Regions from separate parts of the Homo sapiens genome. Here all the other regions are linked to region 2. Evidence: promoter capture Hi-C in 16 types of primary human blood cells and fetal thymus (Javierre and others, 2016). All regions are on one chromosome and are shown on one strand. Each heading gives the region's core, a stretch centred on a gene start or on the middle of the fragment in contact. The rest is flanking DNA. Distances are from core to core; before and after follow the strand shown. Region 1 has its middle 22 kb from the start of ZNF226. Region 2 holds the start of ZNF155 (zinc finger protein 155). Region 3 overlaps ZNF283 (zinc finger protein 283). Region 4 overlaps ZNF225 (zinc finger protein 225). Region 5 overlaps ZNF283 (zinc finger protein 283).

Evidence for each region. Contacts are between HindIII fragments. The CHiCAGO score rates a contact against its expected background, and 5 or more counts as called.
Region 1: a contact is called between a fragment that was not itself captured here and the fragment with the promoter of ZNF155 in region 2, in 12 of 17 cell types (non-activated CD4 T cells, total CD4 T cells, monocytes and 9 more). The highest score is 8.0, in non-activated CD4 T cells.
Region 3: a contact is called between a fragment that was not itself captured here and the fragment with the promoter of ZNF155 in region 2, in 13 of 17 cell types (M2 macrophages, naive CD8 T cells, M1 macrophages and 10 more). The highest score is 10.5, in M2 macrophages.
Region 4: a fragment that was not itself captured here is called in contact with the fragment with the promoter of ZNF155 in region 2 in 14 of 17 cell types (neutrophils, monocytes, M2 macrophages and 11 more); the score reaches 9.6 in neutrophils.
Region 5: a fragment that was not itself captured here is called in contact with the fragment with the promoter of ZNF155 in region 2 in 6 of 17 cell types (naive CD8 T cells, fetal thymus, total CD4 T cells and 3 more); the score reaches 7.2 in naive CD8 T cells.

Annotation. Positions count from the first base shown.
Region 1 is chr19:44,185,939-44,188,875 of GRCh38, reverse strand. It overlaps a transcript of ZNF226 not described here. Among named protein-coding and RNA genes, the nearest start is that of ZNF226, 22 kb to the right of the region's middle. The HindIII fragment of the contact is 935 bases long and covers 1,167-2,101 here.
Region 2 is chr19:43,982,597-43,985,896 of GRCh38, reverse strand. It overlaps ZNF155 (zinc finger protein 155), which reads right to left and starts at 1,709. Exons shown (of 5, transcript NM_198089.3): 1 at 1,652-1,709. RefSeq lists a silencer at 1,813-2,012. The HindIII fragment of the contact is 8,717 bases long and covers 1-3,300 here.
Region 3 is chr19:43,849,032-43,852,157 of GRCh38, reverse strand. It overlaps ZNF283 (zinc finger protein 283), which reads right to left. Exons shown (of 7, transcript NM_181845.2): 7 at 141-3,126. Among named protein-coding and RNA genes, the nearest start is that of ZNF283, 23 kb to the right of the region's middle. The HindIII fragment of the contact is 1,386 bases long and covers 826-2,211 here.
Region 4 is chr19:44,117,091-44,120,288 of GRCh38, reverse strand. ZNF225 (zinc finger protein 225) reads right to left here. Exons shown (of 5, transcript NM_013362.4): 3 at 1,975-2,101; 4 at 1,715-1,807. Among named protein-coding and RNA genes, the nearest start is that of ZNF225, 5.3 kb to the right of the region's middle. The HindIII fragment of the contact is 2,373 bases long and covers 504-2,876 here.
Region 5 is chr19:43,832,020-43,835,276 of GRCh38, reverse strand. It overlaps ZNF283 (zinc finger protein 283), which reads right to left. Exons shown (of 7, transcript NM_181845.2): 4 at 1,651-1,772. The coding sequence starts at 1,772. Among named protein-coding and RNA genes, the nearest start is that of ZNF283, 6.3 kb to the right of the region's middle. The HindIII fragment of the contact is 7,984 bases long and covers 1-3,257 here.

The DNA.
Region 1 (2,937 bases), core at 385-2,884, 200 kb before region 2:
TTCATTTACCTCCCTGAATATACCCACTGTATTCCCATTGAAATGCTCATTCCTGAATAAATGTAATTTTATTTTAGAGAGACTCTGTCTCTTCTATTTAGATTGACATTTATATCAGACAAAATAGACTTAAGACAAAAACTGTCACAAGAGACAAAGAAGGATATCATATAATGATTAAAAGTTCAACTCACTAGGAAGATACAACAATGACAGTTGTTCCTCAGTATTCACAGGGGATTAGTTCCAGGACACTCTGTGGATACCAAAATCCATGGATACTCAAGTCCCTTACATAAAATGGCACAATATTTGCATATAACCTATGCACATCCTCTCATATACTTTAAATCATCTCTGGGCTATTTATAATTCCTAATATTATGTCAATACCATGCAAATAGTCATTATATTGTATTGTTTAGGGAATAATCACCCAAAAAAGTTGGTACATATTCAGTACAAATGCAACGGTTCATTCTTTTCAAATATTTTTGATCCAAGATTAGTTGAATCTGTGGATGCAGAACCTGCAGATACAGAGGGCTACGTAAATATATATGCACCTAACATTAGAGTGCCCAAATATATAAAACAAACATTGACAGAACTGAATGGGGAATAAACAGCAACACAATAATAGTAGGATACTTTAATATCCCACTTTCAATTATGGATAGAACTAGACAGAAGATCAATGAGGAAACGGAGGACTTGAACAACACTAAAGACCAACTGGATCTAACAGATACATACAGAACACTTCACCTAACGACAGTAAAATGCACATTCTTCTCAAGTGTGCATGAAACATTCTCCAAGATAGACCATGTTAGGCTATATTACAAGTCTTAATAAATTTAGGAAGACTGAAATTATACAAAGTATCTTCTCTAACTATACTGGAATAAAACTACAAATTAATAGTAGAAGGAAAACAAGAAATTCCACAAATATGTGGAAATTAAACAATGCATGCTTAAACAACCAATGGGCCAAAAAATAAATCATAAAGGAATTTAGAAAACATCAGGAGACAAATAAAAACAGAGATACAACATTTCAAAACTTATGAGATGCAGTGAAAGCAATCCAAATAGGGACATTTATATTGGTAAACACTTACCTTTAAAAACAAGAAATATCTCAAATCAACAACCTAAGCTTATACTTTAAGGAAATAGGAAAAGAAGAACAAGCAAACCAAAAGTCAGCGGAAGGAATAAAATAGTAAAGATTAGAGTAGAAAATAGAGAGAAGAAAATAACTTTTAAAAAGAAAATTAAGAGTCTGTTTTGAAAAGATTAACACAATTGACAAATTAATTAGTAAAAATAATTAAAATTAATTTCTTAGCTAGATTAAGAAAAAGAGAAGACTCAAATATTTAAAATTAGAAATGAAAGAGGAGACATTATGACTGATGTCACAGAAATAAAAAAAGTATAAGAGATTACTATGAAGAAGAATACACCAACAGATTGGATAACCTAGAAGAAATGGATAAACTAGGAATATGCAACCTATCAAGACTTAATCATGAAGAAATTTTAAGAAAACAACTGAACAGGTGTATAACTAGTGAGGCATTGGACGTAGTCATCAAAAGCCTCCTAAGAAAGAAAACTCTAGGACCTGATGGATTCACTGCAGAATTCTACCAAATATTTAAAGAAGAATTAACATACAAATTCTTCTTAAATTCTTCCAAAGAAGTGAAGAGGAAGGAACACTCTCAAACTCATTCTATAAGTCATCATTAACCTGATACCAAAAGCAAAGACACACAAGAAAATAAACTGTAGACCAATATCTCTGATAAATATTGATGCAAAAATCCTAAACAAAACACTAGCAAACTAAATTTAACAGCACACTAAAAGAATCACAGGTCATGATCAGGCAAGATTTATACCTGGTATAATTCAACATATAAAAATCAATCAATGTAATACACCACATAACAAAATAAAGGGCCTTTCATGATTAAAAAAAAAAAACCACTTAACTAGAAATGAAAGGAAAGTACCTAAATATAATGACAGCCATATATGAAAAGCCCACAGTTAATATCATATTCAATGGAGAAATACTGAAAGCTTTTACTCTAAGATCAGGAACAAGGCAAGGATGCCCAACTTACCACTACTATTTGACATAGTACTGGATATTCTAGCCAGGTCAATCAGAAAGTTTTTAAAAAGACATCCAAATTGGAAAGAAGAATTAAAATTTTCTCCATTTGCAGATGACTTGGTCTTATATGTAGAAAGATCCCACGTACACAAAAAAGCTACAACTAATAACTCAGCAAAGTTGCAAGATACAAAGTTAGCACTAAAAAATCAGTTGCATCTCTATATACTAGCAATCACCAACGTGAAAAGAAAATTTCATTTACTATAGCATCAAAAAGGGTAAAATACTGAGGAAAGAACTTAATCAAATAACTGAAATATTTTTACATTGAAAACTACAAAACATTGTTATTAATAAAAGAAGAAATCTAAGAAGATACAAATAAATGGGAACTCATCCTGTACTCAGGGGTTTGAAGACTTAATAATGTTAAAATTTCCATGCTACACAAAGTGATTTACAGATTCAATGCAATCACTATCAAAATCCCAATGACTTTTTTTCAGAAATAGGAAAAAAAAATTCTAAAATTTGTATGCAATCTCAGATGCCTCACACTCCCTAATTTCAAAACATACTTCAAAAGCAGCAGTAATTAACATGACGTGGTACTGGCATATAGACATATAACCAATATAACACAGAACCCAGAAATAAACCCCTGCATATATAACCAAATGATTTTGACAAGAGTGCCAAGATTACACAATGAGGAAAGGACAGTCTCTTCAAAAAATGGTAATGGGAAAACTGGATATCCATATGCAAAAGAATAAAGTTAGACCCTTACCTTACATT
Region 2 (3,300 bases), core at 460-2,959:
TTCTACTGGGAACTAAGCACCAGGTGTCTCACTCCCATATTTAAAATGGAAAAGAGCGACCGGGCGCGGTGGCTCACGCCTGTAATCCCAGCATTTTCGGAGGCCAAGGCGGTCGGATCACGAGGTCAGGAGTTTCAGACCAGCCTGACCAAAACGGTGAAACCCCATCTTTACTAAAAATACAAAAATTAGCTGGGCGTGGTGGTGCGCACCTGTAATCCCAGCTACTTAGGAGGCTGAAGCAGGAGAATCGCCTGAACCTGGGAGGCGGCCTATTGCACTGAGCCCAGATCGCGCCACTGCACTCTAGCCTGGGCGACAGAGCGAGACTCCGTCTCAGGAAAAAAAAAAAAAAAAAAAAAAGAAAAAGAGCAATACCTTTCCACAGAGCCATGGTGTGGCGTAAATGTATTTATTTCCATAAAGCCCTTAGAATTAAGTTACCAATTAAGGTTTAATTATTATCAACACCCATGCCCAAGGACACATCCTATACACTCTTGGTTGAGGTGAACATCTCTGTAAAAGAAAAAACCGGCCCGGCGCGGTGGCTCACACCTGTAATTCCAGCACTTTGGGAGGCCGAGGCAGGCGGATCACTTAGGACCACAGGTTCGAGACCAGCCTGGCCAACATGGTGAAACCCCGTCTCTACTAAAAATACAAAAATTAGCCGGGCATGGTGACGCATGCCTGTAATCCCAGCTACTCCGGAGCTGAGGACAGAGAATCGCTTGAACCCAGGAGGCGGAGGTTGCAGTGAGCCAAGATCGCGCCACTGCTGCACTCCAGCCTGGGAGACAGAGCAAACCTCATTCTCAAATAATAACAATAATAAAAACAGACTAACAAAATAAATAACTTTTTTTTAAAAAGAGAAAAGCCAAAGACCACTCGTGTAGACAGCTTTGTCCTCAGTAGCCAAGTCCCTCCCTGCAGCTCTTTTAGAAAAGTCAGGCTGGGGAAGGAGAAAGCTGTCAAACACTCTGCGTCGCCGTCCCGGATACAAGTTAAATGCTCCTCTCCCTTCGTGAAACGTGGATGCAACCCACGCCTTCCTAAAAAGAGGTCAGAGGCGTCCGGGATCATCCAGAGCCCTGCCGGGCTCCAAGAGAAGGGCCGGAGCAGCTGGAGCTCTGACCCCACCCGGGCACCTGACCACTTCGCGGGAAATTAACAGGACACCAAGTGACAGGAGCTGTTAAGTCTTTGTTTTATACCACAACTTTCAACTCCTAAAACAATTCTATCAGGATGGTCCTGAAATCCTCATTTAAAAAACGGCAATGGGAGGTACAGGGAGATTAAGTAACACCCCACGTTATATCGCGAGAAAGAGGTCGCACACTTAAGAGTGGAGGGAGGCGGACTGAACGAGGTCAAACACCTGGAAAACCCTCTAAACAGGCACACAAGACTAGACAGAGTTCTTCCCCGCCCCCCCCGAACCCCCGACGACTCCTCCGGTGGACCTGAGTACAGCCCCCAACGCCAGAAGGCTCCATCGACGGCAACGAAACTTCCCTCCCACCCCTCGCATCTCCAAACCTCAGGTCTTCTCCAGGGCTTCTTACCCCCTTAGTTGACCCCCCAGGTCGTTAGGCGCCCCTAATAACTGGTTCACTTTCGCAAAGACCCGCAAGACACATACTTGGCTCAAACCACCTTGTTAAGTAGCAGTGTCCTGCTCGGAGACCGGAAGTGTCGATGATGCCACAGGCGTCTGGACTACACTTCCCAGAATCCCCCGAATCCGCCTGCCTGAGCCAAAGTTCCCACGACTCCACAGAGCAAATGGACTCCACTTCCCAGAATTCACAGGTCCTCCTGCCTGGGCCAAAATTCCCACGCCTCCCAAGCTACTCGCGAAACGCCTGCGGGAGCCAAATTTCCTGCGCATCGACCGGGCAATTAGACTCCCGCAGGCGTTTCGCTGGTATCTTGGGAAATGGAGTCCATTTGCTCTGTGGAGGCGTGAGAATTTTGGCTCAGGCAGGTGGACCTGTGAATTCTGGCCTATCAACCTATATTTTTATTTTAAAAAAATGGAGTCTCATGTTCTATATCAATTTTTCTAAACTAAAAAAGAATACTTTTCATGGTTTTCTTTAGATAAAGTGACTGTGCCAACCACAGTATGAGGAACACTTCTCTGAAAATTGAGTGACTGCTATTTCTAAACCAGTTACAGCTGTATCCTTGCTCTGTTCTGCCCTCCCAAGAGATAAAAATTTATTGACACGCTCAATCGTAGTAGGCAGGAAACTGTGCCTAATATATTAGGGTATATCTGGCATCAAAGGCCCTTTCTGTCCCCCAGGTCCTTGCACTCTGGGCCTGTGATGGGAGGAGAAGCTGCCATAATCTGTGAAATGCCTTTGGGGTCATTCTTCCATTGTCTTGGACAATAGGTCCTGGCTTCAGTTGACATGGCCAATCCATACTAAATTCATGAATTAGTTAGTTGCTTAACCATACCCTTGTATTCTTCAGGTTTCCTGTTTTTTTTTTTTTCCAAAGTAGATAGGCTGTAAACTTTTAAAAATTTTAGTTCTGTTTCCCTTTTAATTAATAATTATTTCAGTCATTCCTCACTTCGTGCCTTTCACTACGGGTAGTCAAGATGATTCAAGCAACTTCAACACTTTGATTAGAAATTAATTCAGATAAACAATTATATCATTCACAAATTCTACCTTCCATAAAACACTAGCACCTGAATATAATTCAGCCAAATTCTTTGTCCCTTTATAACAAGAAGCTCTCTTCTCTTCCAATAACATGTTCAACATTTCTGACTGAGGTCTTCAGAATGGCCTTTACTGTCCATATTTCTACCAACATTCTGATCATGACTACCTAGGTATGCTCTAACAAGATTGATGTTTTCTCTACAGTTCTTATTCTCTATTTCTGAGCGCTAACCAGAATTGTCCTTATCAGTCCATTCATGGCAATGTAGGCTTTTCCTAGCATACATGTAAAAACTCTTCTAGACTCTATCCATTACATAGTTCCAAAGACTGCTACATTTTTAGGTATTTGTTGCAGCAGCAAGCCCACCTCTCAGTACCAATATTTTTTAGTCACAAAATATCATAGCCTGCCTGGCTTTTATTTTATTTTATTTTATTTTATTTTATTTTATTTTATTTTATTTTATTTTATTTTTGAGACGGAGTCTTGCTCTGTCGCCCAGGCTAGAGTGCAGTGGCGCGATCTCGGCTCACTGCAAGCTCTGCCTCCCAGGTTCATGCCATTCTTCTGTCTCAGCCTCCCGAGTAGCTGGGACTACAGGTG
Region 3 (3,126 bases), core at 269-2,768, 130 kb after region 2:
AAATGGCAAAATGAAATCAAGCAATGCATCAGAAGGATACTATGACTAACCTGGAATATCCAGGAATGGGAAAAAGTCAGTGAATCTATCAGAATAAATTATCACATGAACAAATTAAATACTATAGAAGTGCAGAAAAAGATAGTGAAACGGCATTTAATAAAACTCAGGAGGCACCACTACTTAGCTACAACAAAGATTTTCACTCATAACTGAGACCATGATGCTGCCATTCCATCATAGCTAACAACCAGACATGGTGACTGAAATTCTCTTTTGGTTATAGCAGCAGTTCCCAATGCAATTTCACCCACCTACAAAGATAATAGGTCATGGGAATAAGTATTTCAACAGTGAAGTTTGCCATACACCAGTTTAAACAAAGTTCAACCATTTTCTTCACTAGAATACTCCTTAGTCTTTTTTTATTTTTATTTTTTTGAGACGGAGTCTCGCTCTGTCGCCCAGGCTGGAGTGCAGTGGCGCAATCTCGGCTCACTGCAAGCTCTGCCTCCCGGGTTCACGCCATTCTCCTGCCTCAGCCTCCCCGAGTAGCTGGGACCACAGGCGCCCGCCACCACGCCCGGCTAATTTTTTCTATTTTTAGTAGAGACGGGGTTTCACCGTGTTAGCCAGGATGGTCTTGATCTCCTGACCTCGTGATCCGCCCGCCTCGGCTTCCCAAAGTTCTGGGATTACAGGCATGAGCCACCGCGCCCGGCCGTCTTTTTTTTTTTTTCACTTCTCTTTAGTCTTTTGATAAGCTGGTGAGGTGCTTTTGCTTGTTCCTTAGGAGGGGATTTAGTAGATGCTACTTTATAAGCTTCTTTAACTGTAAAATCCTCCTTCATTGTCAAGTACTAGTAAGCACTGGTGATTCCTTGAGATATAATTTCAGAAATGTTGGGATAAGGCACCATGTCTACATTTCTTGGTTAACAGGCAAATGTGGCACCCAGAGGGAGTGGCATAATAGCCAGTTACCAATAATATATCCTGTTAAAACTCCCAAAGTACTCTGCTTTGTGTTACAGTTGATTATTAAGAGTGCAACTGTTGGCTTTTTATGCCTTTGAAAAAGTGCAATCATGTAGAATGATGATCACTAGATGGTGAATGACTGACTGAACAGTGATATTACGAATCCCCTATGTGCACAAAATAGAGAGGTCAGGTGTAGACCTATGACAAGGAACCACAGACATTTAGTTATCAATGCATTAGTTCTGATGGAACTGACATTATTTTCAAAAAGAAATAATTTTTAAAAGGGTCGATTTCTAACTGTGTGAGTATATAAACACACACTCTATTTCTTCATAACTAACCTGCCTTGATGCTAGCACTAAATCATGACAGGCACCTGGTTGAAAGTGGTTGCAAGAAGCCATCAATTTTAAGATGCATTGTGATTTCCAAATAGTAAAATATAGCCAGGCGCAGTGTCTCACACCTGTAATCCCAACACTTTGGGAGGCTGAGGCAGGTGCAGGAGTTCAAGATCAGCCTGGACCAACATGGCAAAACCCCATCTCTACTAAAAATACAAGAATTAGCCAGTATGGTGGTGCACACCTGTGTATCCAGCTACTTGGGAGGCTGAGGCACGAGAATCACTTGAACCCGAGAGGTGCAGGTTGCAGTGAGCCGAAATCACACCACTGCACTCCAGCCTTGGTGACAGAAAGAGAGATCCTGTCCCAAAAAAAAAAAAAAGTAAAATACATACCATATGATCACACATTTCCAAAGATCATTGATCAAGGCTGACCAATCCTATTAGGTATATAATGGATCTTTATAACAGACAACTCCAGTAGTTACCATAAGTGATCAAACTTGGCACTGGTGATACTGGGGGAAATGGATACTATCTGCTTCTGAGGTATTGCAAGATGAAGTACACATCACCATCTATGAAGTGTTCTGGTAAAAAATGTTTAAGCCTCTATTTCCAACTTCATGTTACGAGAAATGTGAAGGAGAGGCCCATATCAAATTTCACCATGAGGAATGAAACTAATGTGTGACATTCTATAAAACAGCTTTCCTAAACTCTTCAAAAGTCTGGATTTTTTCAAGTCTCATTTTTTTAGCTCAGCTTAAGGGATAAACTCTGAATTAAAATCCCCTCAAATTCTTTATACTGTACTAGATCTTATCCAGAATGAACTATCTGAAATTCAAATGGATGAGTGGTTATGGGAAGCTTTTCTGAATTCATTCCTCAAAACGGTTGTGCCTCTCCTAAGAATTCACCAGTAGTAATACTAATAATAAAGACAATATGAACAATAGCTAATATGTATTAAGCATAGGCTACATACCAGATACTCTTCCAAGGATATGATGCATACTAAATCCATCTAATCTCTGTAACAGCATTATTAGTTACCATCAGCATTTGAAACATCATGTCCAGAAGAGATAAGCATTTTGCTCACCATCCTACAGGTAGTATGGAGGTGAAATGGTGATGACAGTATGGTATTTGCCATGGATAAGGGTTTTCCTACATTTGTTACATTAACAGAGTTACTCTCTAGGATGAACTTACTGAAGTTTAACAAAGACTGAATAGTGTTGGAAGGCTTCTGCACATTTAACATATCTGGTATAAATTATCTTATGCTGTTACAGGCATTAGAAAATTTTGATTCCCTCATTTGCCAAATCTTGCTATAGTATGAATATTCTGCTATTCTAATCAGAGAGGTGCAAGTGAAGAATTTCTTATTTAAATTGTCACTTGTCTCATGTCTTGAAAAGTGTGAGTCTTGTCTCAAATTATTTCTGGGAAAGAACAAACTTTGTTTTCAATTCTCAATCATTTATGGACTGATAATTTTGTAAAACAGAATGTTATGGAAATGTCAAATTGCTATAAAAGTTCCAAATATTTACTCACTTTCCACGTTTATCTCACAATTGACAGATGACAATTTTATGACTGCACCAGTCTCTGGATAATAATTTGGGTAGCATTTGTCTAAAGGCCTTCCTATAATTCTAATTCAAATGATTTCTCATTTGGATGAATTCTCTGATGTACTCTAAGATATTTACTGTGTCTATAAGCCTTCCCAAATTCCTTATGTGCATAGGATTACACAGCAGTATGAATTC
Region 4 (3,198 bases), core at 441-2,940, 130 kb before region 2:
CAGAAATATATAAGACACAGTGCAAGACAGCACAAGAAGAAAAAAATAGAACAGTGTTTTGTTTGTTTTTTTGAGACAGAGTCTTACTTTGTCACCAAGGCTGGAGTGCGGTGGCGCCATCTCGGCTCACTGCAACCTCCGCTTCCTGGGTTCAAGTGATTCTCCTGCCTCAGCCTCCCGAGTAACTGAGACTACAGGCACACACTACCACGCCTGGCAAATTTTGTATTTTTAGTAGAGATGGGATTTCACCATGTTGGCCAGGCTGGTCTCAAACTCCTGATCTCAGTGATCCACCCACCTTGGTCTCCGAAAGTAGTGGGATTACAGGCGTGAGCTACCGCGCCTGGCCTAGAATAGTATTTTAAATAGGGTGGTTGGAAATGGCCTCTCTAAAACTGAACAGAGACTTGAATATGCTTAAAGGAGAAGCCAGAAAGTTTTGAGGTGAAAGAGTATTCTGATCAGACAGAAAAGCAAGTAAGGGCTCTGAGGCAGAAGCTTCAGTAGTAGACAGAACAATGATTCATAAAAGATGTCCACATCCAGTACCCAAGACCTATGAACATGTTATATTACACAGCAAGGGGGACTGGGATTGCAGATGCAATTAAGGTCACTAATCAGCTAACAAGAAAGAGAGGTCATTGTGAATCATCCAGGGGTAACCAACACAATTACAAGGAACCTGAAAGGCAGGAGAGAGAGGCATAAGAAGAGTGGCAGAGTGAGCATGACTATGGAAGAAGGGTCAGAAATGCAAAGTAGCTGCCTTTGAAGATGGAGGAAGGGAAACAAGAGCCAAGGAATGCCTAGAGACTGGTAAACCAAAATAAAGGCTTCTCCTCAAGAGCATCCAGAAAGAAACAAACACCTACAGACAGCTTGATAATTGTCCGGTGAGACGTGTCAGACTTCAGGCCTAAAGAACAGAAAGATGATAAATTTTTGTTGTTTAGTCGACTAAATGTGTGGTCATTGGTTACTACAACAGGCAATACAGTGTCCTTGGCAGGTCAGAGAAACGGTAGGGAGGACAACGTGGCTGGAAGGACAAGGCAAAAGGGAGAGGACAGGAGATGTAGTCAGAGAGGTGGTGGGGGATGAAAAGCAGATCACATGGTCTCTAAAAGGCACTTAAAACACTTGTAACTTAAGTAAACATAAGAAGCCAGCCGGGCGCGGTGGCTCACGCCTGTAATCCCAGCACTTTGGGAGGCCAAGGCGGGCGGATCACGAGGTCAGGAGATCGAGACCATCCTGGCTAACACGGTGAAACCCCGTCTCTACTAAAAATACAAAAAATTAGCCGGGCGTGGTGGCGGGCATCTGTATTCCCAGCTACTCAGGAGGCTGAGGCAGGAGAATGGCGTGAACCCGGGAAGCGGAGCTTGCAGTGAGCCGAGATTGCACCACTGCACTCCAGCCTGGGCGACACAGCGAGACTCCATCTCAAAAAAAAAAAAAAGAAGCCAGAAAGGCTTTTGAGCCGAGGAATGGCAGTCTGACTTTCCTAAGGAATACATTGGCTGCCATGAGGAAAACAGATGTCAGGGTGGGAAAAGTGGGAGCAGGGAAACCAGCCGAAAGTCAGCTGTAATAATTCAGGAAAGAGGTCTGGCCATTTAGACCAGGACAACAGAGCTGGGCAATGGACAGAAGTGAAACCGATGGGAGAGTCACGCACAAGGACACAGAGTTGCTTGCTTCTTACCTAAATTCCCTTCTCTTTGGGTTGCTGTCTCCATCATCCAAAACTTTTCTTCCTTTAGGAAGTGGAAAGTATCTCTGTGGAGTGATTGATGCCCTGTGAACGTGAAAAGTCATGTGCTTAGTGCCAATATATCCTAGAAAAAAATCTAAGTAAAATTTACTGGAAACTTAGGTTCCCAATGCATACTCAAACTTGAACACTCTAGGATACAAAGCCACTCCTGGTCCTGATGTTCCCTTACAAAGGGTGCCTGTCCTCACCCACTGAGAGCAGGTTCCTGAAGTTCTCCAGCATCACTTCTCGGTACAGTTTCCTCTGGGCAAGGTCCAGCAGCCTCAGCTCTTCCTCAGTGAAGACCACAGCCACGTCCTTGAAGGTCACTGCCTCCTACAGCATCGAACATATGCAACCTCAGTCTCATGACCAATGACTACTGAGAGAGGGGTGGCACTGAGCAGACAGAGGGGAGGAATGAGAAGCTGTTTTGGATCTTGAGAGACATAGGTCAACACACAGACTTCCTTTTTTATTATTTTATTTTATTTATTTATTTATTTTGAGACAGTCTTGCTCTGTTGCCCGGGCTGGAGTGCAGTGGCATGATCTTGGCTCACTGCAACCTCCGATTCCCAGGTTCAAGTGATCCTCCCGCCTCAGCCTCCCAAGTAGCTGGGATTACAGGTGCCTGCCACCATGCCTGGCTAATTTTTGTATTTTTAATAGAGATGGGGTTTCACCACATTGGCCAGGCTGGTCTCAAACTCCTGACCTCAGGTGATCCGCCTGCCTCGGCCTCCCAAAGTGCTGGGATTACAGGCATGAGCCACTGCGCCCAGCCAGCTCATAGATTTGCTATTCATTCTGTCTGTATCCTGATAATGATGGATTTTCCTGAGCTCCACCAGAAGTGCAGTGATGGAAAAGACCTCCTGTAGGTTTACTTTGTGCACTTACTGAGTCTCCTTGTAAGTAACCCTGTAGGACTCTAAATGCAGCATCCTGGGCTGCACGTATATAGGTTTCAGTGAATCTTGCCAACTGCCCCAGTAACATTTAACAATTCAGTCCCAGTCTTGCCTGATAATTCCCATTGTTCTCTCTCATACTTGAACCCTGAATGTTATCATTTTTCTTTAATATCTGCCACCAAACTAACAAAGCTTGTGGTAACCTGTGTGGGACAGCTATACAGTACATCCTGTGTACTCTCAAGGCATAAACTACATACATTGATTGCAGCATTGATCTATGATCTGCAGACAGTGTGCCTAAAAGCACATCCCAAGGCTCTGTGCCTTCCTGGTCACATGACCTTGGACAAGTTCACCTATTTACTCCCTCTCTAATAATTTTCATATTATAGTTTTTTCAATGATTAAACAAGGAAATACATGCAGCATTGGGAAAGTTGATCAGTGCAGACTAAATACCTAATAAACACTAGCTTTTTAAAATTTTTTTTATTATTATTGTCATTGTTGCCA
Region 5 (3,257 bases), core at 457-2,956, 150 kb after region 2:
CTGCCCAGGAAATCAGATCATCCTCCTTCCATTCCTACCTCTCAGGAATACCTGTCATGGTCCAAGCTAGAACGTCCTTCATGGGCTCAGGACTGAAGGAAGTTGGTCAAAACATGGGAGCTGGACAGGCTGTATAAGGAATTCATCAGGAACCCAAAAAGCTGACTTTCTAATGCATATATCAGAATATTCATGACGCAGAACATCATGCAATGAGTACATGCTAACTTAGGGAAATAATCAAGATATACTCAATAGAAAAAGGAGGTTATGAGACTTATGATTACATTTATAAAATACATATATATCAATACAGAAAGACTGACAATCACATCAATAGATGAAAAAATGTTTAGAAAGTTATACATCTCAAGAAAGAAACAGGCCAGGTGAGGTGGCTCAGGCCTATGATCCCAGCACTTTGGGAGGCTGAGGTGGGTGGATTATGAGGTCAGGAGATCGAGACCATCCTGGCTAACACGGTGAAACCCCGTCTCTACAAAAATACAAAAAATTAGCCAGGCGTGGTGGCAGGCGCCTGTAGTCCCAGCTACTCAGGAGGCTGAGGCAGGAGAATGGCGTGAACCCGGGAGGCAGAGCTGGCAGTGAGCCGAGATCGCGCTGCTGCACTCCAGCCTGGGTGACAGAGCAAGACTCCATCTCGAAAAAAATAAATAAATAAAATAAAAAATAAAAAATAAAATTATATATCTATATATATTAATAACATTTATCTTTTCATTATGATCATAATGTTTTCTGTTTAGGTAATCCACACAATCATTGTAACCATGGCCATACATTACATGAACTGTATAATTTCTACATATGCCTATGTCTTGCCTAGAAAAAAAAAGGATGAAATTCCCCAAGTTATGCCATGTATATATTAATGGAATAATACTAATGGAATAATATTAATGAAATGATATTAATATATTCATGGCCTAAGTTGAGGAATTTCATCCTTTTTTTTCATTTTTTGAGGGGAGGTTTTATTTATTTTTTTGTTCCCCTTCCATTAATGAGGTTTTGATTCTACTTTTCTTATCTTGACTGATGGATTTATTTTGTATCTGAACCTGTCTTAGACATGGTACTCTCCAGATAACTGAATCCAGATAACTGAATCACCTGATCCTATTAGGCTCACTTTGCAACCAACATTAGTAGAATAAAAACTATAAAGTATAAACCTTACAGAATAAATTCCATTTGCCTCCAAATGCTTGATCATGGTTCAACGGTATTGCTTATAACTGCCTTCCTATGAGTTCCTAAAGCAGGTCCCCTGGATTGCCTACTGGCCTTTGTTGCTGACTGCTGGCTGCCTTATGCTTACCCCAAGGCATATTTGGTCTCCAAGGTAACAACTATGTCTTCCAAACACTGTATTACCCGCTAAGTACAAGTATCACAGGGTCAGGCATTTGGGGCAAATTCTTTACCCAAAACTTCACTTCTAGAAATGTATCCTTAAGAAATAGGTAAAGAAGGGCCAGGCACGGCGGCTCATGCCTGTAATCCCAGCACTTTGAGAAGCCGAGGTGGGTGGATCACGAGGTCAGGAGATCGAGACCATCCTAACATGGTGAAACCCCGTCTCTACTAAAACTACAAAAAAAATTAGCTGGGTGTGGTGGCGGGCACCTGTAGTCCCAGCTACTCAGGAGGCTGAGGCAGGAGAATAGCGTGAACCCAGGAGGCGGAGCTTGCAGTGAGCCAAGATCGCACCACTGCACTCCAGCCTGGGCGACAGAGCGAGACTCCATCTGAAAAAAAAAAAAAAAAAGAAATAGGTAAAGAAGAAAGAAACACACAAGATGAATACACAAGGGTACTCAACCAAAAATAATTTCTGGTAACCAAAAATGAGAAACTACGTAATAGTAAGCAAAAGGTTTAATAAATTATGGCCCACCATATCCTCATTAGTTATGATGGTGTTGGTTCATATTAATTGATGAAGAAAGACATGCATGATCAATTCCTTAGGCAGGCCGGTTTGTAACTAACATAATGTGGGAGGCATATTCTATTGAAATTAAGATAAAAGTTCTGGTGTGAGAGCTTTAGGATGTGAATTTGAGCTTGATAGTTATCCATTTCTCAATACCTCTGTTTCCTCATCAGTAAGACGGGTGAGAACAGTGTCTACCATAGAAGAGTAAGTAAGAAATCCATACAAAATACTGAATGGTATATGATAATTGTTTATAAGTTGTCTTTTTTTTTTTTTTTTTTTTTCAGAGACAGGGTCTTGCTCTGTTGCCTAGGCTGGAGTGTAGTGACACAAACACAGCTCACTGCAGCCTCAACCTCCTGGGCTCAAGTGATCCTCCTACCTCAGCCTCCATCCCCAGTAGCTAGAACCACAGGTGCACGCCACCTTGCCCGACTAATGATTCTTCTTTAAAATTGTTTGTAAAGAAAGGGTCTCACTGTGTTGTCCAGGCTGGTCTCGAACTCCTGAGCTCAAGGAATCCTCCTGCCTTGACCTCCCAAAGTGCTGGGATTACAGGTGCAAGCCACCAGGCTTGGCCACATTTTCATCATTATTATTGAAAATGAAGAATGTTACTGTCCCTTATCCTGTTATGCCAAAGAAACTTAAGGCTACTCTATTTTGCTCACAGTAAAATGTGTCTTTCTCAGACCTGCTTTCTTATAACGTGAACTCAAATTTCACAGGTCAACCTTGAGTCTGCTATTCTTCCTAAATAACAATGTGAGCAAAACAGGTTCTCAGAAACATATAGAGGAAAATACCCCTTCCTCCCAGAAGTTACATAGAGATTCAGCATCATTAAGCTGCATCAGAAAATACAACCTGATTAGGTATAAAGCTGAGAACTTAACCAAAGGCTCAGTCTTCTGTACAAATTGGTGGTTTACTTAAACATTTACAACAAGAACCTTCTTATTCTACCTCCTGGTATTTACACCTGTCCTTGGAAATATTATCTGTAAAATGTATTTTTTGTAAGATGGCTGTATATTGGAGATTATTGCCATTGTCTGTAGAGGTAACCTTTAAAATAATCTAATTCTAAAACTCTTTTTTGCCTGGTAATTCATTTTTAAATGACATTTCTATAATCCCAGAAGTTGTAAATATTTGAAGGTTTTCAAATAAGGGAATCACTAGTACTTCCCTCTTCTCCCTAAATATTCAAGATTAACATAAAACCTAGAACTGGGTTGGATTTTTTTTTCAAACTAAGAACTAAAGAGTCTTCAATTCATTTACATCACCA